Regions from separate parts of the Homo sapiens genome. Here regions 1, 2, 3, 4 and 5 are each linked to region 6. The links are contacts of gene promoters, found by promoter capture Hi-C in human tissues and cell types (Jung and others, 2019). All regions are on one chromosome and are shown on one strand. Each heading gives the region's core, a stretch centred on a gene start or on the middle of the fragment in contact. The rest is flanking DNA. Distances are from core to core; before and after follow the strand shown.

What was found. Contacts are between HindIII fragments. The study calls those that stand out against the background at their distance.
Region 1: a fragment that was not itself captured here is called in contact with the fragment with the promoter of ZNF76 in region 6 in 3 of the 25 tissues and cell types used here (bladder, mesenchymal stem cells and mesendoderm cells).
Region 2: a contact is called between a fragment that was not itself captured here and the fragment with the promoter of ZNF76 in region 6, in 2 of the 25 tissues and cell types used here (dorsolateral prefrontal cortex and mesenchymal stem cells).
Region 3: a contact is called between a fragment that was not itself captured here and the fragment with the promoter of ZNF76 in region 6, in 1 of the 25 tissues and cell types used here (mesenchymal stem cells).
Region 4: a fragment that was not itself captured here is called in contact with the fragment with the promoter of ZNF76 in region 6 in 1 of the 25 tissues and cell types used here (aorta).
Region 5: a contact is called between a fragment that was not itself captured here and the fragment with the promoter of ZNF76 in region 6, in 7 of the 25 tissues and cell types used here (IMR-90 fibroblasts, adrenal gland, bladder and 4 more).

What each region holds. Positions count from the first base shown.
Region 1 is chr6:35,010,804-35,016,019 of GRCh38, forward strand. All of the region lies in intron 10 of ANKS1A (ankyrin repeat and sterile alpha motif domain containing 1A), which reads left to right. Among named protein-coding and RNA genes, the nearest start is that of ANKS1A, 120 kb to the left of the region's middle. The HindIII fragment of the contact is 8,554 bases long and covers 1-5,216 here.
Region 2 is chr6:35,026,686-35,031,626 of GRCh38, forward strand. All of the region lies in intron 11 of ANKS1A (ankyrin repeat and sterile alpha motif domain containing 1A), which reads left to right. Among named protein-coding and RNA genes, the nearest start is that of TCP11, 110 kb to the right of the region's middle. The HindIII fragment of the contact is 3,162 bases long and covers 762-3,923 here.
Region 3 is chr6:35,069,478-35,074,429 of GRCh38, forward strand. The region is part of intron 13 of ANKS1A (ankyrin repeat and sterile alpha motif domain containing 1A); the gene reads left to right. Among named protein-coding and RNA genes, the nearest start is that of TCP11, 69 kb to the right of the region's middle. RefSeq lists an enhancer at 654-1,155. The HindIII fragment of the contact is 3,192 bases long and covers 1,546-4,737 here.
Region 4 is chr6:35,049,676-35,054,687 of GRCh38, forward strand. It overlaps ANKS1A (ankyrin repeat and sterile alpha motif domain containing 1A), which reads left to right. Exons shown (of 24, transcript NM_015245.3): 12 at 4,424-4,490. Among named protein-coding and RNA genes, the nearest start is that of TCP11, 89 kb to the right of the region's middle. The HindIII fragment of the contact is 3,342 bases long and covers 1,283-4,624 here.
Region 5 is chr6:35,115,521-35,120,529 of GRCh38, forward strand. It overlaps TCP11 (t-complex 11), which reads right to left. Exons shown (of 10, transcript NM_001370687.1): 7 at 4,909-5,009; 8 at 4,639-4,820; 9 at 3,708-3,871; 10 at 2,555-2,981. The coding sequence ends at 2,749. Among named protein-coding and RNA genes, the nearest start is that of TCP11, 23 kb to the right of the region's middle. The HindIII fragment of the contact is 6,471 bases long and covers 1-4,807 here.
Region 6 is chr6:35,258,439-35,263,318 of GRCh38, forward strand. ZNF76 (zinc finger protein 76) reads left to right here and starts at 1,297. Exons shown (of 14, transcript NM_003427.5): 1 at 1,297-1,403. It overlaps SCUBE3-AS1 (SCUBE3 antisense RNA 1), which reads right to left and starts at 1,017. Exons shown (of 4, transcript XR_001744102.2): 1 at 852-1,017. RefSeq lists silencers at 1,280-1,399, 1,410-1,729. The HindIII fragment of the contact is 24,264 bases long and covers 1-4,880 here.

The sequences.
Region 1 (5,216 bases), core at 405-2,904, 250 kb before region 6:
AGTAGTCATTAAAAAAGTTTGATCTGTCTTCTCGGGAAATTGGTGTGATTGTCCTCCAAAAAGTGCAGGTGCTGTGGGTAAAGATGATGGCTTAAAGAGAGCAGAAGAGATGAGGAAATCGATCTTACATAGTTTTCAAGAGATGAATGAAAAGCTCACTGAGCCTGGTAATCAAGCTGGCATTTGAATTATTGCTCTAGCACTTACTGGATGGTGACTATTATTTAGGGAATCATTTAACTTCTTTAAGCCTCAGTTTCTACATGTAGAAGGGATACTAATTCTTACCTCATGGTTGTTGTGAATATTAAAAAGAAAATGCTTGGCATAGTGTCTGGCACAGAAGGAGTAGTACTCAATAAGTAGTAGCTGTTGGAAGCCAGCTGAGTTAGGTGAATTGGTAGAGGACTCAAGTCAGTTGTTTCTTGAGTATTTAAAAGGGCTCAACATTCCAGCAACTGGAGAAGAGAAAGCAAATGGCTATGAATACCCACTACAAGAACTGGCAGAAGATCAAGGGGAGCAAAGACAGCAAATATGCTATTAAATTAGGCATGGTTAGAAATCGTGGCTGGTTGGAAGCTGATCCAGGCAAAGCTGGTATATTGAAAACTAGGGAAGTTTGGGGGCCAGAGGTCAGAGGTCCAATGACAGGTAGAGAACAGACGCTTTAGGAGTTCAAGAAGAAGGGGGAGATGTAATGAGGTAATCAAGACCAAGTCAATGTGAAACAGTCCGAAGTCCCAAAGCTGGGCTATACCTATGGGCCCCAAGGTGAGTACAGATGGCTCCTAATCTGAAGATTCTCCACTGTGCTATTACATGTAATCCCAAACCAAACTTATAAGAATACTGGCCTTCCCTGGCATTTGAGTTTTATTCTGCCTCTTTAAAAGGGCTACTCAGAATAAATCAGTCTCCTTTGCAGAGTCAGGAGAAGGGAAACCAGCCTCTCTGTGCAGTGTTAGCATGATGAGCTAAGAGTTCAGAAATGACTGTAAATGAAAAATGGTGATAATGATAGCAGCTATCATTTACTGAATGCTTCCCACGGGCCAGCTGCCATGCTGATTTCCTTTATGTTGATTATGTCATTGTATATCTTGTGACAGATCTTCAGGGTAGGGGCTATTTTTGTCCCTGTTTCAGAGCTGAGGAAGAAAAGGTTAGGTATTGGAGCTGAGACTTAAACCCTAGTGTGACTGAATCCAAAGCCTGTACTTTTAACCATGAGGCTAAAACCATTTCATCAAAAGCCTTTCTGCTATTCATGTTCTTAACATCATAGAACTGGTAGGGACTATAGAGAGGTCCTTTAATCACAGATTCAAACTAGCCTAAATCCCAAAGCCCTGGAGAATGCATCCCAGGCATTCATTTTTTGAAAGAGACCTAGAGAGGAAAAGTCACGGGGCTGGAACTAAAACATGGGCTTCTTGAATCCCTGTCTAGCTCTTATTCTATTTCTCAGGTTGCCGTGGACCAAAATGAACTCTCAGTCTATTTGTCTTATCAAATTGCAGTCTTCAGCAAGTGTCTGAATAACTTGGTCAGGACCTTCCTTCCAGGAAGAGCCTGGTGACCCTCTGAAAGCAGCCATGTACTTGGGAGTTCTCCTGCACACCCATGGTTTTTGATGCTCACTATAGTGACTAGGCAGCTGGAGGATTCCAATCCTAATGATACGGAGAACACAAAACAATATGAGACACTGGGTCCCCCAGCCTTCTTCTCTGGGCCTGAGGGGAGATTTGAATTAGCAACTCCTCACATGAGCTGCATTCTTTAGCCTTAATTTAAGTGGGCAGAGGTGAATGAAAATGTGTAAATGTTGAAGTGTTATTATTCAAAAGCCCTTGAGATCCCATAGCTCATCGTAGTAATTAAAATGCAGCACAGAAGACCCCTTGCTTCAGTAGCTCACAGGGTATAAGGAAAATGAATGAGGATCACAAGTTGATGGGATTGGGAATTAGCATGCTGGTGTGCCATATTGAGTAGAACAGCTGGCCTCGATGTATGGGTAGCATAAGAAACAGGCCTCCCTCCCTGTGTGCCACTATCTCCTTGTTTCTCTCCTAGAAGGGCAGACTGTGGGGAGGGCAGAGCTCGGGGAACATGGGAAGTAGTGTAGGAGAAAGGCCTAAGGGTCTCTTCTGCAACTTCACTAGTCCCTGGGCGTGAGGTTTGTTGCCCAGGGTGGTCTCTAACTCCTGAGCTCAAGTGATCCTCCTCTCTCAGCCTCCCAAAGTGCTGGGATTACAGGCATGTACTGCCACACCTGGCCCTTCTCTGCCTTTTCTAATGTATTTTTACTTCTCTGTAAGCCTGACAAGGTCTTATTTCTCCTTCAGTGCTCAGCTCGAAAGCTACCTCTTCTGAGAAGCCTTCTGGTTCGAAGTAATCAGGCTTTCCTTTTTGTCTGCCAAGCATATGATTTATGCCTGTCTTAAAGCATCTATTGAGGCAGACTTGGTGTCTTTATTTTTTTTATTTTTTATTTTTTGGTGAGACAAGGTCTCGCTGTGTCTCCCAGGCTGGAGTGCAGTGGCATGATCACAGCTCACTGCAGCCTTGAATTCCTGGACTCAAATTATCCTCCCATCTCAACCTCCCAAGTAGCTGGGACAGCAGGTGTGCACCACCACACCCAGCTAATTTTTAAATTGTTTATAGAGATGAGGTCTCGCCATGTTGCCCAAGCTGATCTTGAACTCCTGAGCTCAAGCAATCCTCCCACCACAGGCTCCCAAAGCGTTGGGATTACAGGCGTGAGCCACCACACCCGGCCTCTTTATCCTCATATCCACCTGGGTGCCTCCTGAGGACAGACACTTCATACATTTGTCCATGGGATGAGTGGTTACAGTGACAGTTCTGGGGCCTGTCTCAGAGTTTCTCACTTCAGCCCTCTCACCATATTACCTTCTGTCCCTTCCTTCTGCTGTTCAGAGTTATAAGGATGGTGAAGGTAATGAATGCTTGTGAAGTGCTTTATATCTTACAGAGTACTTTCATGTACCTTATCTTTGATGATCCTTGTGACAGACCTGTGAGGAACGGAGAAGTAGTTGGTCTCATCTGTGAGCAAAGTGTGTTGTAACGGACCCTGTGTGGAGGATAATAACAATTTCAACATCTATTGAGAGCGTGGCATGTGCTAGACACGGTTCTTAATGCATTACACGTATAATTTAATTACCGCAACAATCCCCCAATTAAGATCCCAGAATTGCACAAAGAAGTGATTTGCTTAAAAACTGCTTCTTGATCAGTATATTCTATTGTTAGCACCTTGTCCCTAAGAGACCTTATATTATCCTTACTTTGCAGAAGGAAGAAACCATTGAGTAATTCTTTTCCCACCCATTGATCTGCCAAAAAAAACTCATCTTGGCCTTGGATGTAGTTTTTAATGGGAACAAGAACACCAGCCTTAGGGTCTTGGATCTCGGCAAGCTTTTCAGATACCAAAGTGTCTTTCTTAGGAATTGCCTGGCTAAGTCATATGATTATAAGAATTTCTTTCCATCATTTCTTATATTCCACAAAATATTGGTGGATTGTGGTTTCTCTAATAGGATTATGACCCTCAGAGATTCTTCCTCCACATATTTCCTTCCTCCGTAAGTTTCCATTCTTTCCTTCTACCCACTTCCTTCCCCTTGGCATGTGTCTGGTATTGAGCCCTTGGCATCTGTCTCTCTTTCATCATTGATAGCTAGCATGAATGGGTGGCTGTTTCACAGGGCCTGCATTGTTGGCTCCCACAGCAGCAGTTAGAACATTCTCTGTGGCCTGGGTTCTGAGGTCCACCCAGGCAGTGTGAGCCAGGCTGGCCCCCAGTTCTGAGCTGTGGTGTTTCCTTTCATTGTTGGTGCCTTAGCTCCCAGTTGTTAAATATGAAGCTGGAAGTTGATACAAAGCAGTAGAAGCCTGTGCTCCTTTTACCAAAGTCATCTTGCATTCAAATATAGTCAGAGGGACATTGTACCTTGGGCCAGGATCTGTAGGAAGTCGGCTATTAGAATGTGGTCCCAGAGATGGCAAATTTTACAGCCTGATTAACTCTCCCCATCAGCTTCTCCTAGGAAGTACTATTGACCTGAACCACATTAAATGGTCATGTGTCATCCTCACTGTAGCCCCACCATGCAACATCACTGGGTAGCTTTGTTCTGGCTGCCAGTTGTTATATGTAATATTCGTAGCCATGAGTCGTGGCTTCCTGGGGCCTTGGTTAAGCTATATGAAACTCTTATGTAATCAGCATTCCTTCTTCCCTAGAGAAAGGATTCAAGTTTTTCAGGGTTTGTTCATTGCTCAGGACCTGACCTTTAAGTTGAGTTGAGGTGTGAAAGTCCCAAAGTGGTCAAGTTTGAAAGTCCCAAAGTGGTCAAGTGTAGAGGAGGGGCCCAACACAGTGGCTCACGCCTATAATCCAGCACTTTGGGAGGCCAAGGCAGGCAGATCACTTGAGGCGAGGAGTTTGAGACCAGCCTGGCCAACATGGCAAAACCCCGTCTCTACTAAAAATACAATAAAATTAGCTGGGCGTGGTGGCACACACCTGTACTCCCAGCCACTCAGGAGGCTGAGATGGGAGAATCGCTTGAACCCAGGAGGCAGAGGTTGCAGTGAGCCAAGAGTGTGCAACTGCATTCCAGCCTGGGCAACAGAGCAAGACTTGGTCTCAAAAAAAAAATAAAGAAGTGTAGAGGAGAGAGATGCCAAAGTTGGTGCTTCTGTGCTCCTGTGGATAAGTAATCAGAGCCATAAAGTGGAGCTAATTGGCTGCCCCTGGCCACTTCTCTAGACTCGTGAAAAGCTGAACAGACTGTGGAGACTGAACTGCTCTTCTGGAGCTGGGAGGGGAGAGGGGGCGATGGGAGAACTGTATCCCTGCTCAGACCTCAGCGAGTTGGGCTCACTGTGAGAGCTGGTTGTTGAGACATTTCTTAAAGGCTGTTTTGAAAAAACCACTGTTGCAGGAGAGTAGCGTCATGCTTGGGCATTGGAGACTGTGTTTTAGTACATTGTGTTTATAAAGCACTGCTCATTTTGCACCCCTCCTCACCTGGCTACCCTCTCCAGTTGCAGAACTGAACCTCAAGAAGGGGCTTTGGGCCTTCAGGCATGCTGATGAGGGAGAGTGGGTGCTGTGTAGACAGCAACAGGAGAGGTACCCAGGCAGGCATCTCACATCCCTAAGGGGG
Region 2 (4,941 bases), core at 1,093-3,592, 230 kb before region 6:
TGGGCTACTTTCTCTTAATTAATTTCTCCTGTAAGAGAAATTTAAAATCCTACCCTACACTTAATATTGTCTTACAAATATACCTTATAACTTGACTTTTACTTTTAACTTCCTTTTTCTTTAGTCATGATTGCTACCTGTTGCCTTTCTCATCTTGGTTTTTTTCCTTGATTTCTTTATTTTAAGCTGTTGGGTGCATGCTTTTAAACATGCACATACCCACATTTTTAAAAAGCTATTGAACTAGAATGAAATCATAATTTCTCAAACTTGATCATTGTTCTTGTTGTCATCCTAGGCAAGGATGTTGGGTGAGTTCTGGCAGAGGGGCTGGGTTATAGGTCATTGTCTTAGGAAATGCCTTTCCATAAGCTCATTGCATACTCAAGGCAGAAATAAAATCTGAAAACCAGGATCACGAAGCAAAGGGAAGAGAATTCAAAATTACTAAGACCAGAAGATGGCCAGAAATCTCAGAAATGGGAGATCCAGTGAGGGAGGCCAACTGATTGGGTGTTCATGGAGGCAGGGAAGGTGAGTTGAGGGTATGCCACCACCACTTGGAACACAGAAATGGTGCTGATGTCCTAAAAGAGCACTCACCACAAATAATTTGCCCTGATGAATCTTAAATACATCCTCTCAGGAGCCAGGCCCATAGGTAATTACAACCAGTAAGAGAGGGAGATGCTGGTGGCCTCAGACATTCTCTGATCCTGGGTGGACTTAGGGGACATCAGGGTAGAGGGAGCTTCTTAGAGACCAGATATGAAGGTGGTCTGTGTGTATGCATGCACGCATGTGTGTGTATATATCCCAGAGAAGTTTAATTTGTTTAGAGATATGCTGTGTGGTCAGAGTGGCAGCCAGATGGTGGGGGATAGGCTTTTTATTATGTAAGACTCTGAGAAAACAATTAATCTGGACCTCATTTGCACTTCCTTTGAAATGTGTGACCCTCAGAAACAACACAGGGTCTTTTCCTGACCCCAGTGTTATGCCAGCATCCTCAAAGATGTGCTCTCTGATCTCAGCTCTGTGAGATGAGATCAGATCATGGACGACTACCCTCCCTGCCTAGGGCTCCTTTATCCTGCTTTCTTCTCCATAGATGTTCCCTTTTGATGCTACCAGGTGAGTAGCCAGTGGGTAAGAAGAATGTCTGTGGCCTGTAGCTGCTGGGCAGGGCCAAGATGCTGAGCGAATCTTTCCCAGGTATCCTACTCTTGCTCACAAGCTCTAATGACCCAGTCTCTGGCGCCACAGGGCCCACCTGTCCATAACTCAAGGCAGCCTGTTTTATTTGCCTGGACAGGTGGAAAACTGCCTAAGCTCACTAGGTGCCTACAAATGACAATTTATCTGGCAGTCTGTTCTTGGCTGTCCTGATTTAAACAGGCAAGAAGCCATTGTAAACTCAGCTGAAATGTTGTGGTTTGTGTAAATGTTCTGGTTCCTTTCCTTTCCACTTTGGATCTAGTTATTTTCAACAGAACTTCCCCCAAAAGCATGGAAGAGCCTTATATCCATTATGCAGTGGGCATACAGTCCTGGTTTTGCAGCTTGGGCCCTCTGTACTGGGCCAAAGGACAGTGAAGAGTGCCGTGGAACTTGGGTGCAGTGGCAGAGGACTGGCATCCCATCTTCACACTGTACTTCAAGGGTGGAGATCTCCCAGCCTCAAGGTCATAGGCTGTTTCTGTGTCCTTGGAGGGAATATATAGCTTAACCTCCATATCTAACTGTATGTAGAAATCTAGGCAAAGCTAACCCTAGAAATGGAATGTTTATACCTTAGGGATTTTGTATTTTTAAAATTATAATACCTGAATCTAGGTGAAATTTTAAAGGTACCAAAGACTATATAGTGAAAAATAAGTCTTCCAGATTTTCAGTTCTTCTCCCTGGTGTTTTGAATATCCTTCCAGAAATATTCTCTGCATGTAGAAGCATTTCTGACATGTTAAGCATTTTTCTTTTTAAAAGACAAAATGGTGCTGTCTCATGTGTACTGCTCTGAACCTTGCTTTTTTCATGTAATAGTAATTTTTTGAAAATCATTCTAATTGAGTACATGAAGTTTTCTTTTTTATTGTTCATAATATTCCATGGTGTGCATATACTATCATTTATTTTTGTTTCTTGTAGGTGGACATTCTACATGTTACCAAGCTTTTACTGATTAAAGCATTGCTGCAATGCAAATCCTTGTACAGAGTCATTGTAAGATGTTTCTAGAAACTGAACAGCTGTGTGAAAGAGTTTGTGCGTGTTAAATTTACTTTCCTACCCACAACATGTAAACACCTTATCAACATGAGGGTGGTCAGCCTTTTAGTCTCTTTTTGGTTAACAGATTGGTAATGTTATCTTATCTTGGGTTAGTTTTAAAGTGTGTTTCTTATTATGAGTGACATTGGCATCTCTTTATATGTTTACAAAACACTACTTTCTATATTCCTTTTCTCTTTTTTTTTTAAACGTTGTTATTGAATTGATCTCTTTGTTACTAATTTGTAGAAGCTCTTTGTATTTGAGAAAAATTAGCCCTTTATCTATGATATGATTTGTCTTTTGGCCTTGTGGTATTTTTATGTTTTTTTTAACATGTGGAAATTTAGAATTTTTATGTAGTTGAATCTATCAATCTTGAATGACTTCTGCTTTTTTTTTTTTTTTTTTTGAGACAGTCTTGCTCTGTCACCCCGGCTGGAGTGCAGTGGCACAAACTTGGTTCACTGCAACCTCCATCTCCTGGGTTCAAGCTGTTCTCCTGCCTCAGCCTCCTGAGTAGCTGGGATTACAGGCACCTGCCACCACGCCCAGCTAATCTTTGTATTTTTAGTAGAGACGAGGTTTCACCATATTAGGCCAGGCTGGTCTGGAACTCCTGACCTCAGGTGATCCACCCACCTGGGCCTCCCAAATTGCTGGGATTACAGGCGTGAGCCACGGCGCCCAGTCGACTTCTGCATTTTGTATCCCAGTTAAGAAGACTTTCCTTACTCTAAGATTACAAATATATGTATATTATTTGTATATATACATTATATATATTATTACATATACATATATAATTACATATATAATATATACTTATATGTAATATACAAATATATATTATTTGATTACAAATCTATTTTTTATATATATATAGTTACATATTCTATATATATACACACACACAAACACATAATTTCCTCCTGATATTTTATGGTTTCATTTTTCAGGTATAAATCTTTGTTTCTTCGGAATTCATTTTGCTATGAGGAGTGCTAGACATCCTGTTGATTTTTAGCAACAATTTGATCTAGCCCACTATTTGATTCACTTTTCCTGGTGATGAAACTAAAGCTTTGAGAGCTGAAATGACTTGCCTACGGTCTTAGGGTTGATAAATGTGGGAAACCAGTTGGAACTACATCTTCTAAGGATTGTATTTAGAATATAGGTGAGCTAAACCTTTATTTCAGCATTAATTAGCAGTTACTTTTCATTTCCTCTTGTTTCAACCCAAATTATTGCAGCTTTATCTTACTTTTTCCCTCTAACTGCAGACAAAAATATTGGTCTTTGTGTATGAAGGAAAGCAACTTACGAAAGGAGTCTCCTGGGAGAAGCATGTGTTTCCTTTTTTACCGTAATATTAAGACTCAAAGCATTTCTTCCCTTTACTGCTCTCTAAGATGGGGGGCTGTTAGGTTTTTCTTTTGTGACTTGAAAAGTGAGGTGATGATTTCTGGCAAATTCTAAAATTTGGAATTTGGAAGGAATCCTAGTTACCATGTAGTCCAGCTCCCTTATGAACAAAGTCACTTCTGTGTTGTCTAAAAGTGACCTTCTTTACTACCGTACTTGACTGGTTTAAAAATAATAATAGTAACTAACTAAATAAATAAAAATGATCTTCCAACTTTTGCTTGTAAACCACAAGTAACCCCCTCTACCATCCACCGTTACGTCTATGAAATAATGAAAAATCCTTTCTCATATCCAGCTAAAATCTGTGACTTCCACCCCATCAATTCTGGTTTTACCTTCTTGGTAGGTCATGCATGCAGTCCTCCATAATAGTTGTTCAGATATTTGAAGCTGCAATTATGTCCTCCCACCCTCAAACCTTCTCGTTTCCTTGCCAGGCAGGCACGCCAGTTTCTTCTCTCTCACCTCAGATGGCTTATTTTCAAACTGCTTTTGTCCCGGCCCTTCGGTGAACATCCTCTTGAAATCGTATGACATTGTTACAGATGCTTGTACATAATGTACATTGCATGGTACACTATGATGAGATTTACATGTTGCAGGCCACCTGATAATGCTTCATCAAGGGGTTTGATGCGCATCTTAGTCTCCTGAAAACTTAAGGGTTCAATCTGTCCGTGAGCCCAAGTCAAAGACAGTGTGCACAATGCTTCCAGAGGTACCACACCTCCATCAGGAGGCCATACAGAAAGCGGTTCTGTGGAGTGGAGGTGTTTGTTGCCTTTTAAAGCTTTATCCTGTGATTTCTGCCCTGGAGATACAGCTCAGCCTCTTCCCTGTTGTGCTCTTTTGGCAAAATCAATGTAGCTTTTCCCCATGTCCCATCACATAACAGTGACTCTACCTACTCTCCACCTAACAGCGTAATCGCCTGCTCTGGGCCCATGAGACTTGCTCAAGCATTTTTTAGCAGCTACATGACTCACTATGACCTTAATTTGCAGGTAAAGATGCTTTTGTACCAATTTTTCATTTGAAATCAATAGGACAGATAAGGCCTGAGAAAGCCTATGTTGTCTAAATGACCCTGAGCCAGGCCTTGTAAAGGGTCACTCAAGTCCCCTTGTGCTCTTGACCAGAACCCTTCCTCCTCCTCCCCATTTTGTGCCAGTCGCCAGGGTTTCCTTCCAAAATCTCTCTCCTCCATTCAGACTCACGTATCTGGGATCCTCAGCGGCC
Region 3 (4,952 bases), core at 1,892-4,391, 190 kb before region 6:
TTAGAGGATTAAATGAGATTAGTGCAAGGCACTTAGCTAGTGCCTAGAACACAGAGGGCTGACAATAATTTTTTTTCTTTTAAGATAGGGTCTCTCTCTGTTGCCCAGGCTGGAGTGCAGTGGCGCAGTCACAGCTCACTGCAGCCCTGACCCCCCAGGCTCAAGTGATCCTCCCATCTAAGTCTCCCAAATAGCTGGAACTACAGGTACACACCACCCTACCTGGCTAATATATATATATTTTTTTTTTTAAGAGACTGGGTGTCAGTCCGGGTGTGGTGGCTCATGCCTGTAATCCCAGCACTTTGGGAGGCCGAGGTGGGTGGATCACCTGAGGTCAGGAGTTCAAGACCAGCCTGACCAACAATGGCGAAACCCAGTCTCTGCTAAAAATAGAAAATTAGCTGGGTTTGGTGGCACATGCCTGTAATCCCAGCTACTTGGGAGGCTGAGGCAGGAGAATCGCTTGAACCTGGGAGGTGGAAGTTGCGGTGAGCCAAGATTGTGCCATTGCACTCCAGCCTGGGTGACAGAGCAAGACTCTGTCAAAAAAAAAAAAAAAAAAAGAGACTGGGTGTCTCACAATGTTGCTCAGGCTGGTCTCAAACTCCTGGGCCCAGGAGGCAGTCCTCCCAAAGTGTTGGGATTATAGGCATTGAACCATTGCACCTGGCCCTACAGGGGCATCAATAGTTGTCACCTGTGTTTAGACTATGACTGGTATTGGTGGCAGTGTCGTCATTTTCAGCTCTTGCAGTCTGGTGCCTCTCTGCTGGGTCTTCCACCAACTCTTTCCCAGCTTAACCCCCATCTTCCTAGAAAGCCTCCTTTCCCATCTCACCCCTTCCCTTTCCAGGTCTTTTTCCGATCCTGAAGAGACTAGCTGAGAGTCTAGCACCTCTCAAAGGTCTGAATAGAAAACACTTACCATCTATTGCCTCTAAGGGTGAATCACCTAGGACACCTAATCTACATAATAGGAACCTTGGTCCCCACAAGCCTTTATCTTTTTTTTTTTTTTTTTTTTTTTTTGAGACAGTCTCACTCTGTTGCCCAGGCTAGAGTACAGTGGTACAACCTCGGCTCACTGCAAGCTCTGCCTCCCAGGTTCATGCCATTCTTCTGCCTCAGCCGCCCGAGTAGCTGGGACTACAGGTGTCTGCCACCACGCTAATTTTTTGTATTTTTACTAGAGATGGTTTTTCACCGTGTTAGCCTGGATGGTCTCAATCTCCTGACCTCGTGATCTGCCTGCCTCGGCCTCCCAAAGTGCTGGGATTACAGGCGTGAGCCACCGTGCACAGCCCACAAGCCTTTATCTTAACCCAGACACCCCTTTCTTTTTTCTTTGTGTGTGTGTGTGTGTGTGCGCGCCAAAGATTTATTTCTTCATTTCTTGCATTTGAAGGACTCTTCGATGACATCCTTGGCCTGAGACTCCTTGCCATAGTCCTTAACTACTACACAACTGCAACCAACCACTTTCCAGGGTTTCCCCTCTCTGTCTATTTTACAGAGGCCTGCCCATTCCCCTAGTTTCTTGTTGTCATCAACCTTACTTAGGTTGATTTGCCAGACACCTCTTTCTATTGACTCCAGGCCTTTAGATAAACTCTTTCAACTAGTTGCCAATCAGAAAATCTTTGAATCCACTTGTGACCTGTAAGGCCACCACCCCCAAACTTCAGCTTTGAGTTGTCCCTCCTTTCCAGACTGAACCAGTGCATACCTCACATATATCGCTTGATGTCTTGTGTCTCCCTAAAATGTATGAAATCAAAGGGAAGGGAATCCTCTATAGAATGTAAATTTCCCCCACAAGAGGCAGCTTTGCAGGGCCATTTCAAAATATGCTAAAGAAATATATTTGGGGGTAAAATACTTTGTTTCGGGGCTGCTGTCTGTCATGCGATGCCATACTGGAGTCAGGTTGGCACTCGGTGTCTTGTTGCTACAGAGTCCGCTGGGTCAGTCTTAGGATCTCTGCTTTAATGATAATGTGGGACTGTTGTGCCTGAATTCCACAGGGAGGAGGGTGTAATGAGGCAGGTCCAATGCCCCTACCCATCATGGCCTGAACCTGTTTTTCAGGTTTCTGTGGGATCCCCTTGGCCTAGAGGGGGGGTCCATTCAGTTTCCTGGGGGGCTGATGGTTTTATTTTTGGTTCATACCGCTGAGGTACCAGATGCTGTCTGGCAGAGCCACACCCCCTGAGCTGGCCACACGCTCCCAGTCAGAACTTCTCTGCGGTTTGGATGTGTCAGGGTCCTGTTTCCAGAAGATCCGTTAAAGTCAAAGCAAACTCCTACCTACCCCGGCCTCGTGGAGCCTTCCTGCGGTCCTGCCATTTGCCCCATCCTGTAGACAGGGCTGCAGGAAGCAGCCCAGCCAGCAACCAGTGTGGAGGGAGAGGGAGTCCAAGGCCCAGGCCGGCCCCTCCCCATCTGGGGCTGCCCTGCAACCCTCAGTGGTAACTTAGGACAGCTCCTATTTCCCCTTTGGCTAAAAGGGTCTACACCAGTGTGTCACCACTCCCAAACAGTCCCCTTCCTGGGCCTTTGCCACTTTGTTGAATGAAGACCTCACCTGCAGTTAAGCAAAATATTAACACGTGAGATGCCTTTCAAGATGCAAAAGGATATTTTCCTTCTAAAATCACATGGGCAGGAAGGCTCTGAAGATGTTAGAGCCCCAGTGGACTGGAGAAAGCCAGGAAGAAAGCAGTGTGGGTCCTGCAGTAGCCCCTGCCGCTTCTCCTGCCTCCTGCTCTCCCAGGACGCCCGGGGCCGACCCGGGCCGACCCTTGTCATGCTCCTTCCGTTCGCCTGGGCCTCCATGCTTTCAGCTACCTTCTGCATCTTCAGGTGGAGCCCAGTGACAGATACTCGCAGGAAGGAGAAAGCATTCAAATGGCTTAGGTTGATGGAAAGTGACACTGATTACAGCCACCATGGTAGACGCTTCACGTGTACCTTACCAAGGAAGGGCACCCAGCCACGATCATGGGCGACTCTACAAACCCAGCCCCTTACTGAACTCCAATAGGCCAGGCTGGCTTCTTCCAGAGTCAGGCTGGCCCTTGGCACAGTGCCCGTGCTATGTATCCAGAGGCCTGGGCCCACATCCTGACCCTGTTTCTCCCTTATTGGAGGCCCTGGCATTTCTGAACCCACTCACCTCTAAGAATTGGATTCTGTACAGTTAAAGGAACAGTGTCCCTTCCCCGAGAGGTGGAGAAAAGGTGGCCAGGAGGGAGAGGGTCCTGGGAGGAGCATTTATGCGCGATGCTGAGAGATGGGATTCTACGGAGGGAGGCAGCATTGGCTCTCAGCTCAGCAGGGGCTGTGCCCCAGCCCAGGACGGGTGTCCTGCTCCTGCTGTCTGGCAGGCGTCTGCCCGCACCCCCACACTTTGCTTTTGTCTTCAGTACACCCTGCCTGCCCCAGCAGGAAGAGCCGAGGAAGACGACTGGGGTTGGTCAGATGGGGCCTGAGCAGTCCCTTTGCCATGCTCTAGTACCATGGCCTTGGATAAGTCCAGTCTGCTCTCCAAGCCTCAGTTTCTTTCTGTGTAATGTGAGCAGCTCCTATCTGAAAGGTTTATTGGGCGGATTTTTGCAGGTCATGGGTGTGAAGCCCCTAGCACAGTGCTGGACTGTGGTCAGAACTCAGTATCACTGGCCCGCATCTTCACTGTGAGCCCAGGACAGGCCACACGTCACACGTCACCTCCCACAAAGCCCGGCAGAGGGTGCCCAGGGAACTCTTGTTATGCCCAGAGCTCAGTGACCCAGGGGAGCACTTCTTGCTGTCCCCTTCCCTTGAGTTCTCCAAAGCAGGCCATGGCCATGATCACAGGCTGAGGAGCCAGGCCGCCAGGGGCCATCCTGGCTCTGCCTCTTCCATGGGAGCACTTTTTCCTCTGCAAAGCGGGGAGCAGTCGGACACCTGCCGGCGATATGAAGTCTGAGCGAGTCAGGACAGGGGGAGGCCCAGATCCCAGGCGAAGATCAGTGCTCTGTCCCGCCTTGGTTGCTGGGAGCCCTCCTGTCCCCTCTTCCTCAGGGACTGGACCCAAACCAGGCCAGGCCGGAAGACTAGTTGTGTGTTTCAGATGTCACTTGGAGTTGTGAAGCTTTTATCAAAGCTGAGACAATCCCTGTTAACTAAAATCCCTAGGACAATGAACTGTTGTCCTTTATTCACTTCCTAATTATAGAAGTGTCCTGCCATGTAGTAAGTACTCAGTAAATGTTAGCATGGTAGCAGATAAAGTAGAAAATCTCTTTTCCCCCATGACCCTCCTTGTGAAGAGGTTTCTAAAAGCCAGTGGTCCCTTCTCCCTGAGTAAAGAGGGTGTGGTAACTTCCAGAAACGTTTCTTGCCCTTTGAGGATATGTGGCACTGAGTAGTCACCACACAAGCTCATCCCCCGGTGCGGAGATATGGCTACTTCAGGAATTGGGAGGACCCCGCGCTGCGCCCGGAATGTGCTCTGGCAATGGTTTGCCTTTCTTTTCTGTCATTTCCTTTATTTTTGTGTGTTTCCATTCATCTCTTGTTCCTCAAAGCTGCACACAGCCCGCCCTTCTGCTGGCCAAGGTCTGGTTAGCAAAGGGCCTGTCTCCGGCGGATCTGGCTTTCCTCGCTGTCAGCCTTCAGGTGCCCTGAAAGCTGGCGAAGGTTTCTGAGTCAATGCTGGGGTTGAGTGGGAGTTTAGAACATCACTGCGGTGCCGCAGTCACTCTTGGACGTCCACGTCCTCTTGGAGGTTTGAGGCAGGCTCAGCTCAGCCGTTCGCTTTGGTATCCTCATAATCAGGTAGAAAGTCTGGGCCGGGGCCAGGGGCAGTGGTGCACACCTGTAATCCCAGCACTTTTGGGAGGTCGAGGCAGGAAGATTACTTGAGCTTAGGGGTTCAAGACCAGCTTGGGCAACATAGTGAGACCCCA
Region 4 (5,012 bases), core at 1,704-4,203, 210 kb before region 6:
AGTTATAGAAACTTCTCTCGTGCTCCCATTTACACCAAAGGAAAGTAAAAGGAAAGTGATTCCTTTCCCATCCTCCTCTACATGGGGCCCCAACGAAAGACATATTGACCAGACTGATTCCTGCTCTCCTGATATTTGGCCCCATGTCGTAGCCCTGCACACAGCCGTGACTTGTACTGCCTCCTGAAAGGGAGCCAAGTTACACCAAAGCTTGAGGTCCGCCTGTGCCCAACACACTTCCTGGCACACAGAAGACCCATCAAAACTCTTTCTTTCCCCTCCTTCAACTCCCAGTATTTATTAAAAAGCTAGTTGTCATCTGCGTGGCTCTGCCGCCTGGTGATGGGGGATGGAGACCTCTCCATACAGAGCTCCACCTCCCATCCCCACCCCGTGGGCAGCCAGAATCCTGCGGTCTAAACAAGCAGATGTCAGATGGCCTGAGCAGCAGTATCTCCAGTGTTTGTTTTTGTTCTTGTTTTCAGCCATATGGGGAATACATTTTACACAGCCCTGGCAGGGAAAAATAGTCTAAACAGAGTCGTCCTGAAAACTTTTTGAAAATGGAGTATTTCCAAGCATTTTTTGAAGACAAGAGTCCATTATGGTGATAACTTTCAAGTCCTTATATTAACAAACACGAGTATAAGTTTTCAGTCAGTTCACGTGAAGTGCACTAATAAGGAAGCATGGCCATTTCTCATCTCTCTCCAAAAATGTCACTCATCCAAAACCACAGAAAAAGAGGAGAACACTAAATGGTGCCCGTCCATTACACTTAACCTGCCTCTTCCCCTGAAATGCAGACCATTTCTGGGAAAGCTGCCTGTTCAGATTTTTTTTTAACTTAAAGCTAGGAGGTTAAACTGCATGAAGTGTATAGATCAGAATGATATCTGCTGTGTCTGAACGCTCTTCTTTGTGTAGATTGAAATGATCTTATTTCCTCTCTGCTGGTTCTGGGCATGAGGGTGAGTCTGAGGCAAGGAGAGAAGATGAGCTCCGGCTTCTCCCCATCTGCACAGCTCAGGCTGAGGGCTTGGGCAGACCACAGCTCCAGACACTCTGTGGTGCCAGGGTGGGGACCTGCCAATCTCTGCCCAAACAGGACCTCTTCGCTGCCATGTCCCTCCTGGCCCTGAGCTTCCACCAAGACAGGTTCCAGTTGCTGAGGAAGGAGTCCAGGGTTACAGGCTGTGAGTCCATTGCCGAGGACCCTGAGTTTTTCTGGAACTAGAACCAGCTCAGCTTGACTTAGCCATGGCAGTTCACAGAACAATAGAACAACTTCCTAGCCTGGGCAAAATCGTCCTGAGAGCATCCATTAGCATTTCCCAGCCGGTCTGCAGTCTGGAACACCTCACATGGATACCCGGGTTTCTGGGTCAGGCACCTGTAACCCCAGTGCTTTGGGAGGCTGACGCGGGAGGATCCCCTGAGCCCAGGAGTTCAAGGTTTCAGTGAGCCATGATTGCGCCACTGCACTCCAGCCTGGGTGACAGAGCAAGACCATGTCTCAAAGAAAAAAAAAAGAAAAGAAAAGAAACCTGGGCTTCTGCTGGCCTATGTCAGTTGACTAGTGGGTGACTCCTGGGGCAAGCAGGAAAGAGCAGAGCGGAGAAGCAGCGAGGGTGCTCAACTCTGTTCACTCTGATGCCAAAAGGCCCTTCGGCAAAATTTCACAAATTGTACCACCAACGGATGCTGATTGGACAGGCCAGCTGGGGCTTCGGATGTTAAGTGATTATGGTGATAATGAAATATATAATATGACTTTATTTCAGAGGATACCCTGGAGTCACCCCACCATTTCAGCCCTTTCCTTCCCCAGCACGCTGCATGGCCGTGGAGAACAGCTTTTCCAGTGCAGACTCTAAAGAAATGGAAACTACACTTTGGTTCATTCACAGATTCATTCAATAGGTTCTCTATTTACCATGTGCCAGGCCCAGCGGGTGACAAGGCAAATAAAATACGCTTGATGCCAACCCTCATTGGTGTCTACAGTGTTAAGCTCTGCGTGTGAGTAGAATAGAATGCGGAGAGGCAACTGGGAGATGGGTAAGGGAGACTTTTCTCTGAATAACATTTTGTATCTTTTGAATTTTGAATCATGTGAATGTATCAAAAAATAAGTGTAAGTAAAAATATTTTTACAACTTTAAAAATAGGTTTTACTGGACTGGAGCACTCAGAGGACAACAGAGCGGAAGTGGAAAGCAAACTAACCTTTTATTGAGCATTTACTGTGAGCTAGACCTTCAGCCAGGTGCTTTATGTACATGATATCTTTTAATCCACACAACCCTGGACAAAGGCAGTATCATCCTCATTTTTATCCATTTTAAATGGAAGCTTGCCAGGTATGGTGGCTCACACCTGTAGTCCCAGCACTTTGGGAGGCCAAGGCAGGAAGATCACTTGAGCCCAGGAGTTTGAAACCAGCCCAGGCAACATAGTGAGACCTTATCTCTACAAAAAAGAAAAAATAGCCAGGTACAGTGGCTCATGCCTATGATCCTAGCACTCTGGGAGGCCAAAGTGCACAGATCACTTGAGTCCAACAGTTTGAGACCAGCCTGGACAACATGATGAAACCCCGCCTTTACAAAAAATAACAAAAAAATTAGCCGGCTGTGGTGTTGCACGCCTGTAGTCCCAGCTACTAGGGAGGCTGAGGTGGGTGGATCACTTGGGCTCAGGAGGTCAAGGTTGCAGTGAGCCGTGATCACACCACTGCACTCCAGCCTGGGCAACAGAGCAAGACCCTGCCTCCAAAAAAAATAAAAATTAAAAAAAATAGCAAGGCATGGTGGCACCTACCTGTCGTCGTCGTCTTAGCTATTCAGGAGTCTTAGCTATTCAGTGGGAGGATCACTTGAGTCCAGGAGTTTGAGAGCAGCCTGGACAACATAACAAGACCTCTTCTCTGTTAAAAAAAAAAAAAAAAAAAAAAAGAATAATAAAAATAAAAATAAATGGAAGCTTTGGGAGGTCTGGGGAGTTTCCCTTGTATCATGCTGCCCCTGCTGAAGGAGGCAGCACTTGAAACAGACATGGCCAGAGAAAGAGATGGGGGTGGAGGGAGGCGTTTTCTTCAAGGGGCAGAGCCAGCCTGCTCTGACACTATCCTTCCTCCCTGTGCCTCTGGGCTGCTGGGGCCAGTGTTTAGAGACACACCCTCAGTTTGCTGCAGGGGTCAGATTCGTTTCCCTCTGCCTTGCTGAGCTCAGGGAAGGAGCTTGCAGTCTGGTTAACAGGCAGTCAGATGACAGCCTGAGCCAGCAGTCGATTCTGTGGCTGGAGGAAGATACCTCCCCGAGCCCCCAGCTGCCCAAGGAGAGATGGCGCTTGCTCTGTGCTCTTCTGCTGGGTGTCAGATGCACGGCTTTGTCTGCCAGCTGAAGGCTGGCTGGAGAATTGTTTTTCCAATTGTCTGACCCAGGCTCCTTACTTGCACTTAGAGGAAAAAGCATCCAAGCCCTGGTACAAAAGGTCCTCTTTTCATTCCTTTGGAAAAAGAGCAGTGAATGAGCTCATTATCACTGCAACCCAAAAAGGAGGAGGAGGGGAAGAAGAGAAGGTGGCTGCTCCCCACTGCCTAGTTCTGCCCCTGGCCAGGTTTCCTGGGGAAGGGGGCCTGGATCTGGCCCATAGTGGCCAAGGCCAGATGGCTGGGACAGGTGGTCCATACTGGGGGCAGCGCTGGAGCCATTGGATGCTTTGAAACTAGCTTTCTCTGCTGTGGTCCAGAAGAGGGACAGGTGTCTGTGCCCCGTCTCATCTCCTGAACGCAGAGCTCTATCCAGGACTGCTGGACTCCAAGAAGCAAAAGGCCTTCCATTTGGGCCTAAGTGCCTGCCTCACCTTTCCTTCCCAGAGGTTTCTGTATGCAGGCGCTCTAGAAATCATCCTCACTCCCCAGAGCTTGTGGTCATACAGTATCAGTTATCTGTTGAATGCTTATGATTTGCCAGGCACTACCCTAGGCACTCAGGGTAGCATGGAACAAAGCCGGCAAAGTCTTCACTCTCATGGAATTGAAATTCTAGCGTGAGCAATGAGATGGCCAGGTCTGGCCTGTGATTGCAGCCTCTCCCCAGTCTCTGCTGGTCTGGGAGAACTGCTGGGGAGTGACATAGAGATGCCTTGAAAGGGAGGCTCTTCAGTATTTCTAGCAGCTAAGCCCAGACTGTCACCATCTCACTCCCTTCAGAGCAGTACATCGGACCCTGTGGGCTGGGGCCAGAGAAGGCCTCTCTTAGACCTGAGCAGCAGAGTCCTGATACCTTGCAGGCTGGTGCTGGTCCTGGGAAGCATCTGAAAGAGACCTGGAGGTCAGACCCCACTGGCGCTGTGGTGAGCTGGTAAGGTTTACCCCAAGCCTGACTGCCTCTCCTCTTTGTTCTTTCTTCCATTTCAGATTGAGAAAATCATGAGTTCTATTGGAGAAGGGATTGACTTTTCTCAGGAACGGCAGAAGATCTCAGGTACCGTACTAAGTGGCCATTTTCCCCACAGAAACTGGCAGTCTGGCTCTTTTCTGGCTCAGGCTTTCCTCTAACACAGAAGACAGACATTCAGTGGGTGGGAGAGGTCAGCTTCAGACCACGTCATGCTCCTATAATTCAGTCTCCAATACCTAGACAGCCCCATCTTGCTGTTATTTTTAGAGCCATGACTCCTTTTACATATGGGAGGGGAAAAGGGACAAAATGAATTTTAAGCTGCCTATTGGGAAAAATTTTTAGATCAACAATCGTAACTTATTCATTATTTTATGGGCTTTCTTAGATGGGCTTAAATCAGAGTGCACCTCAGCGTTGGTCTCTGCAGCTTCCAAGATGGCTCTCAAGAGTCTCATCCGTGATGGTGGCGGAGCACTGGGTTAGACCAGGGGTCTCAGACTCGTAGCATGCATGTGAATTGCCTGGGAGGGTTGACTGTGCTGTTTCCTCTTCCCACAGCTCCTTGTGCCTGACTCAGTTTACTTCATCACTTACCATTCTTAC
Region 5 (5,009 bases), core at 322-2,821, 140 kb before region 6:
ATGGATCCTAAAATTCATATGGAAATGGAAGGGATAGCCACATAATCTTGAAAAACAACCAAGCTGGAGAACTTATACTTCCTAATTTCAAAACTTACAAAGCTTACAGTAATCAAAACAATATCTTACTGGCATAAGGATAAACATATAGATAAATGGCATAAAATAGAGTCCAGAAATAAACCCTTGCATATATGGTCAATCGATTTTTGACAACAGTCAAAGACCAAGACCATTCATCAATGGGAATAGGACAGTCTCTTCAACAAATAATGCTAGGAAAACTGGATGTCCACATACAAAAGAATAAAGCTGGATCTGTTCCTTACACCATATACAAATACTAACTCAAAATGGTAGTTTCTCAATAAATTAAGCAGGGATTACCATAGAACTCAGCAATTCTATTCCTGGATATATGGGTAGACACTCAAAAACATAGAAGACAGGTGTTCAAACAAAAACTTATGTATGAGTTTTGTAAATAACGCCAAGTGTTCACTGTGGCATTGTTTACAAAAGCCAAAATGCTCAGCTCTATATGTTGAAAGGTACACATAGCCAGAGAAGAGAAAACTAAGGGCTTGCTGGCTTCTCAGCTAGTTGAGGGCTGAAGTCATACCCATGGACTAATGAGTGGATAAGCAAAATGTGGTATATTCATGTGACAGAATATTACTTAGCTATAAAAAGAATGAACTACCAATACATGCTAGAACACAAATGAATGTTGAAAAATGAGTGAAAGAAGCCAGTCACAAAAAGCTACATATTATATGATTCCATTTATAGGAAATATTCAGAGTCAGAAAGCCCATTGAGACAGAAAGATTAGTGGTTGCCAGGGGAAGGGAATGGGGGAAAATGGGCAGTGACTGGTTACTGGAATGGGATTTCCTTTGGTGGTGATGAAAATGTTCTAGAACTAGTTAGTCGTGATGGCTGTACAACATTCTGAATGTACTCAATGTCACTAATAGCTTTCATATTACATGTATTTTCTCCACAATTTAAAATACAAATATACATTTTTTTAAAATTCCCTCAAACCAGTGGGCAGGATTGAATGGAGCTATCTTTCCTTGTTTAGGGACAAGATCCCTGTCTCCTCCATGAGAAAGCATAAGAAAATAAATTCAAATTTTCTAAGGTACTGATGAGTCCCTATTTTAATTGTGAAGTACAAAGCAAGGTTCTATTATCAGTCCAGGGTCTGCACCTGCCAACTGGACAATCTTCTTCCCAGGAATCCCTTCAGAGTACTTTTACCTCTAAAATAATGAGGTTTCCAAAACGTGGATTTTTTAAAAATTCAAATTAATAGTTACAAATCAGAGAATCCAACTGGGCAAGCCTCACTGTTTATTAAACATACCACTTTATCTGGGCTTCCCCATCCTGAAGCTGTCTAGTTATAAGACGAAAAATGCAAATGATCCAGGCCCTCCAGCTTTTCTAGTCATAGTAAAAGTCACATTGTGTTGATCTAGCTCTGTCACCTACCTAGGATCTACCCTCTAAAAAAGGAAATCAATTAGAAGGAAACACTGGGCCTAATGGAACTCAAATCCCCCTTCTGTTGTTCTTCCTAGATTAGGTGTGTTAACACTCAGCAACTTCCATCACCTAAAATGATGAGAACATTGTTTTTCTTCACCTTGCCTTGAGAACACATAATTGAATTTCCATTTTCTAAATCTGAACTGAACATTTTCTTCATTTCAGCCATACTAGGTTGGAGCTGGTCTGCTGCAGTCAGCCTGAAAATGAGTTGGTCTCTACAATCTCAGGAGACAAGCCCAAATCCTTCCTAGAACCTCTCTTATTTGTGATGCCAACAACAGCTTACAACCACAACTGCCCAGAATGGAGAAGCCAGAAGGATGGAGGCTGCTCCACCTCTGAATGCCCACATCACCTCTGCCTGGAAAAACCGGGTGTTCTAAGCTTAGAGATGAGGGAAAGGAGACTTACTGGGCTAGAGAACAGGACCAGAATAAACTTGATACAAGTGAGTCACAGACCTAACTGTCCAAGTCTGAACTCTGGATAACTTGAGAGAGAGGTCCCATGAACTCTGAACTTGTCCTCAACAGAATGCTTGCTTGTAGCCAATATCCATTTTCATCCAGCCCCGGGTATGCATATTGCTTCAGACCATGCAACAGAAGAGGAAACTAAGGCTCTTAATATCCCTTGACTTCTTGTTGCATTCTCTGAAACCTTTAGGGAAATTTGGTCCTAGAAATGAACTAACTTCCCTAAACCATGTCCTCTCCTGAGGTGAACTGGACAAAACAAAGGCTTCCAAAAGAAACCCTTATATTCACAATTTGGATAATTCCAGAGGTCTAAGAGCTCCCCAGGAGTAATGCTTTACCCTTAAAGAAAATAAGGCTAGCACCTGGGTATCTTGGCTGTTCAGCTCTATATGTTGAAAGGTACACATAGCCAGAGAGGGGAAAACTGAGGGCTTGCTGGCTTCTCAGCTAGTTGAGGGCTGAAGTCATTAGGGCTTGGCCTCAGCTGCAGCACAGGAAAAATGGAGGATTTCTTGCACTTAAGAAGTTTATTAATGAATGGGTATGGACCAGTTGGTGTTTACATGCTTGATCCCTACAGCCTTGGTGTACTGGCTGCAGGGCCTGGGATAGAAGCTCACTGTCTGCTGGTCACTGGTGATGTTACTCCAGGAAGATGATGGGCCTCCTCTTGGGTCCAAGGTACCAGGGCTCTGAGCCGACGCTATCAAACAGACTCCACTTTTGTTTCCAGTGCCTGGGCTGGGGAAATGAGGGTTTTTAGGATCTCAGTGTAGTAGGGACCAAACACCTGCTGATTGTGATGTGTCAAGTTGACAAACTTTTGGCCCAGTTCTGCCAGTTCTGCTTCAATGAGAGTAAGGCCTCCAGGAAGGTCTAATAGAGACCGCTGCACACCAAGAACCAAACAGCATTTGAGAAACAAATGGATCCGCTGATCTGTGAGCAGGAAAAGACACTGATAAGGGAAAAGGCAAACAGATTTCAGGGAGAAAATTCCCCCTGCACTCTACTCACCCATGTTCTAAGTTAACAGATATGTACCAACCTGCCCCCCTACCTAGAGATAATGAAATTTGTTTTGTTTGGAAAGGGGGCTGCTATCTTGCTCTCAAGGACAAATATAAAAAACTAGTGTGTTAGTAAATTTCAGATTATTCAAAAGATTGTTTAAGTAGCCATCAGTTAGATCCTAGTGAGTGTTTGACATAACAGGAGGAACTTAGACTGATCCTTCAGATGGCTAAGGTTAGGAGCAGGCTGGCCAAGTTCATGGCCTCCACTCCAGCATGAGGGTAGGGGATTCCCCACTATAGGAACATGTCTTCCAGCTAAATTCAGCATTAGTTTCTTGTTGGGAGATGGGGGAATGTCAGATTTCTTGGGTGCCATCAGAGAATGACCTGTAGGCCCAAGTGACTTAACCAGGTCGGCTGGACATATCCCACACCTAGAAGTCATGAATTTCTGGGTGCAAATCATCCTGAGAACCACAGTTAGTCTTTAAACTGAGACGGATATGATTTCAACCCAGCATTTTGAAAAAAATCAAGGCTAAACAATGACGTACCTAATGACCATGCTTCATGTTGTTAAAGGTTGGGGTTCCACGGTTGGGATCTATCTCTTCCCTCACCATTCTTACTACCCCACAAGCATACTCACCAATAACACTGCAGACACAGTTCTCCTTCTTGGCAATGTTCTGGAGCTGTCCCATTAGAGATGCTGTATTATCACTGCTTAGAGCAACAAGGCCCATATTCTTGAGGCTTTGATGGATTTCCTGAGATACCTGTTCACTCACAGTCAGTATAGCTTCCTCAGGCCTAGACCATGAAAGAAAGTAAGCTGGCACCCACCAGGTAACCCTGGCATAGGCCCAGGGCCCAGCATGCTGTATACCAGATGCCAGGCCCACTTGAGGGAGAATGTCAGCCACCCTCTCCACCCCTAAACCCCAGCCCCTGGCAGGCTATAGGGCCCAGTGGGTAGGTACAATGTCCTCACTGTAACCCTCAAGACACCAGCTATTCTCTATATGTGGCACTGTGTTCTACTTCTTAGCAAACAAGGTAAATGATAAAATCAACTCTGGAAAAGTATTTAGTTGTGCTCTTGGATCCACTCAGCATTCTTTAGTCCCATGGACTTTATTTTTATATATATATGTTTAAGACTTTCTTAGGCATTTTCCAGAATCATCTGTCCCACCTCATCAGTTATAACTACAACCTGGCCTTCTGATTCCTCTTTTTCCTTTGGTGTGATGGCCTGCACACAGCGGGATGTTCAATAAATATTGCTGACCGACTGACCAAGTCCTGGATATATGTGATGATACCAGCCCACAGTCACCACTCAACTAGATAATGACCCTTTTGCAGCAAACTATCTTCCACACCCTTTTTGGAAGAAAGGTTTTTTTTTGTTACACCCTCATGACCACTTATGGAAAGAAACCAACAATCTTTGTAGATGGTTCCACAGGGCCTTTCTGTGGTTTGTGGTAGACAGTAAGCAATCGTTCATTACCTGCCTATGTTCTAAATACCACATATCACCTTCTACTCTAAAAAGTAACTATGCAGCTCACCTGGAGTGAAAGTCTTCCAACAAGGATTTGGTTATGCGTTTCAGTTTATCTACAAATTGGGGTGAGCCAAACAAAACACTGCCGGAGAAACTACTGGCCACCAGCAAGACTGAGGCCATGACGGTTAACTGGTGCAACTGGGACTTCAGCTCCTGCAGCCGGGTTCTGTCCATCAGCAGGGTCTGGGAACCAGGGAAGAACAGGCTGTCAGGGGAAGTCCCGATGGAAGCCCTGAACACAAAACAAGGCAATGCCCCCAGACATTCCTACCTCAGGGAACTCTTCATTTTCAAGGTCCCAGAGAAGGAGGTTCAAGAAGCCCTGACACAGCACCATTGTGGGGCTGAGGGGCTCTGGGTTGTTGGCTGCCT
Region 6 (4,880 bases), core at 47-2,546:
CTGGTCCCAGCCAGAACAAGTCAGGAAGAGGGGATGTCTAAGACCGAAAGGGGGGCTTTCTAGTTAAGCTCTTCAGGCAGGAGAGGAAAAGGATGCCCGCATCCCCAAAGACACCTTTAGCTACCACAAGCCCCAAACCCCGTACTTTGTAACTGTGTCTAGTTTACGTCCTTTAAAAATTATTCTTATTAAGTTAAATTGTTTTCGGGGCGGGGAAGATACAAAAGAAACCAGTTAAAGTCTGAAAGGATAGAGAGGGGAAAGTTTCTCACCTCATTCTTCCAGCCACCCAGTTCCTCTCCTAAAAGGCAATCTTTACCAGTTCCTTCTCTAACGCCCCTCCTTTTTAATTTGATTTTTTACCGAAAGCTCGCTCCCTTTTAATTTTCCCTCAGGTTTCTGAAAATTTCCCAATCGCAGCCCCTCCCAGCAGGGAAATAGTAAAGGGGCTTGGTTTTTATGTTCAACCCAAAGCAAGCCTACAAAAGGGAGTAGTCGGTTTCGAGCCTGACGGTGGAGCTGACGCGGGAATGAGAGAGAACCTGAGAAGACCGCCAGGGCGCCCTCCCTGCGGAGGCGAGTCCCTCACCGCCCCTCTACATCGTCCTTTTCAATAAGGAGCTCTTAATACCTGCAACTGCTTCCTTCAAGGGGTGGCTGGAAGATCAGTAGGCAAGGCCTGCGGACTGCGCACCTTAAAGCGCTTCGGGACCGTAAGACAGTGAGTGCTGAGCGCGCGGCCGGGAAGAAGCCTGGAGGCTCTGAGCTCGGAGGACAGAGACCGAAGCCCCAGGGCCTGCGTCCCTCACAACCTGCGCCTCCTGTCCTCCCGCGCTACTCCCGAAGCGCACCTTCTCGCCCGCAGGCCGCAGAAGTGATGACGCAAAGCCCTCGGGGCCTCCGCCACCTCCTCACGCTTCTGCTGGACCGAATCCTTGGAATGGACAGGTAGCGGTTCCCGATTGCTATAGCGACGACCCGGCTCCGAGCCGCGCCCAGGCCCTGACCCGGGCGTCGTGACGTCAGCACGCCTTCCCTGGGCGCTCAGCCTCGCTGGCCATGCGTCACCCCGGCCTTGGTGGGGGCGGGGCTCCGAAGAGCTCGGTTCAGATCCCGGCCGCCTGGGCTCCAGGAGCCCCGGAACCAGGATAAGTTGGATGGCTGCCGCGGCGAAGCGGGGGGCGGGGTGGACCGTGCCCGGTATTTTCTATACGGGTTCCGGGGCCCGGTAGAGGCGCGCCAAGAGGAAAGGAAAGTGCGGCGGCCCTGGAACCTGGATATCGCGCGAGGCAAGCTGCGCGCGGGCGGGCGGGCTATGGCGCAGGCGGGTTGTGGGGCCGGCGCTGGTGGCGGGGCCCGGTGCATGGCGGTCTGTCGGCGGAGTCGCCCTCGGGGGCTGTCAGGTTGGTGGCTGCGGGAGGAGTGGGCCAACCATGCCCAGGGCGGGAGGCCGGGCGGGCGCAGGACCCCGGGAAGGTCCCGAGCCCGGCGTGCCCACCTCCCTCCGGCCCTAGCAGGGCGGCCTGGCCGCTGGACCGCGGCCGGGCCCCCTCCCCCACCCAGGGTCCCTGCCCCTCTTTTCCGCCTTGCGGCTCCTCCCCCGTGACTCCCAAACCTCACCCCGTGACGGCGCCCGCCTCCACCCTTGTGACCCCACACCCCACCCACTGACCCCAAGACCTCACCAGGTAACCGTTGGTTATTATTCATTGGCTGCTAACCCAGGAATTTCCCCAGCACTTCTCAGAGACCCACCAACCAGTGACTCCCTCAGTTTTAATCCGGTGACTCACATGACCCTGAGATCCCCACACTCCTCCTTAGTGACCCCCAAACCTGGGTAACCCTCCTGGCCCAGTAACCCCCCCGATTCTACCTTGTGTTCCCCACAAACTCGGTGACTCCCCTCAAAACTCTGCTGGCGACTCCTAAGCCCTACTCCAATAGTTTTCCACGCACTCACCTTGTACACAACCCTCAGTATCTTTATCCTGTAGCCGTATGACCCTCGTTCCACGTCTGCCTTTATCCTAAAATCACCCCCACTGGCATCTCTCTCTGCGATCCCAGCCCTTCAGTGTCAATCAGCACATGACTTACAAGCGTCCAGCACCTTTCTGGTGCTAAGGAGGATATAGAGATTAATATGAAGTAGTAATAATTGGAGGCATCAGAGAATTCTGGATCAATCCAGAATCCAGTCAATCCAGTGTGTGGTCCCAGCTCTGTCACTGCTGTGCTTTAGGGACCTGTGAGAAGTCCCCTCCTCAGTCTGGACCTCAGTTTCTCATCATGACTGTGATGAGGTTGGGTTAGATGATCTTTGAGTTTCCTTCCGTCTGTGAAATTGTGAAATTATGCAGTTCTCAGTCAAGATAATAATTTTTTGCAATCATTTTTGTACCCCACCCTGGAAATTTCCTCTTGTAACCTCATCCCAGGATCTGCTTGCATCATGAACCTTACTCCCTCATTCCCGGATCACCCTCTTCACTCTTCATAGTGCATACCCATTTCCCTTGATCAGGCCCCATCAGTTAACATGTTTGCAAAGCAGTATAGCAGAGTGCTTCATTTGGGGGCATTGAGTTCATAACAAACCTAGGTTCCAGACTGATTCTGGCCCTTCAGCTATGGGACTTTTGGTATATTATTTAGCCTGTCTTAACTTCAGTCTCCACCTCTGCGAAGGGAGAAAATAGTAGTGCCTGACATAACATATGTAAAGCACCGGGCACCATGCCTGGCTCATGGGAACCCTTAGCATAAGCTGTTGTTAGAAATGAGAAGCTGCTATGGATCTTACTCTGTCCTGAGTGCTAGGGATTTAACAGACTGAACATGTGGCCCATACCTTGCATTATGTTGCTACTACTGACATCTTGGAATCCCTATCTTCTCATCTCTGCTGTAGCCTCACTTCTCTGGTTCTTACCCTGATTTTGCCTCAATAACGATTGGCTTGCTGAATACCTACTGTGTGCCAAGCTCTGGATATATAAGTTAAATTTACGTCTCAACAGCCCCAAGAGTTAATTATTATTATATCCACCATTTTCCCTTCCCATATTTTTGTTTGGTTGGTTGGTTGGTTTCAGAGAAATGAACCAGAAACTCTCACAGCTAAGTAGCAGAGCTAAGATTTGAACCCACAGTTTAAAAAAACAAAACAAAACCCTACTCCATTGCCTGTCTTTCCCCCAGACTTACTCAACCTCAGCTCCTTATTCCTTATTTTCTAGTAATTCCTAAATACAACATCAGCTCGTTCCTTGATCCCTAAGGTTTCTGTTCTTGAGCTCCTAGCCTCAAGAGATCCTCCCACCTTAGCCTCTCAAGTAGTTGAGATTATAGGCGTGAGCCACCAAGACTGGCCCTGACCCCCAAGGTTTCTATTACCGTTTGCCATGTAACTTGGTGACTTTCTCATCCTGCTGTTCATGACTTTTGATCTCATATCCCCTGAAGCCCCTGCACCTTGTAGGGGAGGGAAAATATCTTCTTAGGTTCATGGCTTAGGCCCCTATAACAACAGATTTAATAAGAGAAGATTATATACATTTATTTAATGTAAGTTTTATGTGACAGGAGCCTTCATAAGGAAATGAAGACCTAAAGAAATGATTAAACTTGTATATTTTTATACTAGATCTGATGAAGAGTGGATAGTTGTGGAAAAATACAAAAAGGGTAATATCAAATAGTAATAAACTGGGAGAAACTTAGCAAGGCCTGTTTGTTCAGACTCTTCTCTGTGTCCCTGTGTCTTCACAGATAAGGGTGCTTCTTTCCTCTGAGTATAGGGAGGGCACCTCTTTATGAGGAGGGTATTATGACCTGCTTCAGGGGAAAGTCAGAAAAATCCTTCCTAGGTTTTGTGATCTGCTTCAGGGGAGAAGAGCCTCAGAGAAAGTGAGAGTGACCTTCCTACTGCCATTTTCTCAAGTTGCCATATTTTGGAGTAGTGTCTTGAACCCAGTCAACTTCTCTCTTCATCCTTTGCCCAAATATCTCTTGTTCTATGAATCTTTGACGCTTCCAGCCCTTTCCCTGTGAACTCACTCACCATACAGTGTCTCCCACCTCACTGGCACTTTACCCCAAATCCTTTCATCTTGTTAAGTCCCTTAGCCCCAGGAATCCACAAGTCTGTATGCTCTAAAACCATCTAGCCCAGTTGCCTTTCATCCTATTTTTTAGTCTCAGTGTTCTACTCCCACCACCCCACCTTCTGCCATCCTCAGCCACATTCTGTGACCTGAAACCTTCATATAATTTGTCCTTCATTTAGTGACCTCTTGATGTGACTAGCTTCAATGGAATCGGCTCCTTCCATCCCAGCATGAAGCAATCCTGTATAACTTGCACACCCTCCCATTCTAAGGCCTCTCCTCTCATACCCTTGCCCAGTATCCTGTGAGATCCTGCCTCTCAGATTCCTCCCTCACCTTTTCAAACCCGGATTGTCTTTCACCCTTCCACAGGGCCTCCTCTTCCTGCCTTCCTCTTATTTGTCCCCTCAGCCATCCTCACCTCACCAATCTTGATAATTGATTACAATATAAATCTCCCTTCCATCTCAGGTCTGCTCCTTTCTTCCTCCACTCTCTTGTGCATCTATCTCCAGGGCCATGCGTATGCCCCTGCTGCTTTCAGCTCTGCTTCCTTCATATGCTGCACTGTTCCACCAAACTTCATCAGTCTCTTCGGTTTATCCAGAGAACTACACTCTTCTCTGGGAACTTCTGATGACTTCTGATAATAGATCACCAAAGGATCTTGGTTTTTTAGAGGGCAGGGAGAGAGCCCTTTGAAGTCCTTCAGAATCAATCTAGCTGTGTCTCCTGGACACCCTCCCACTATCCTATCCTGTTATGAAG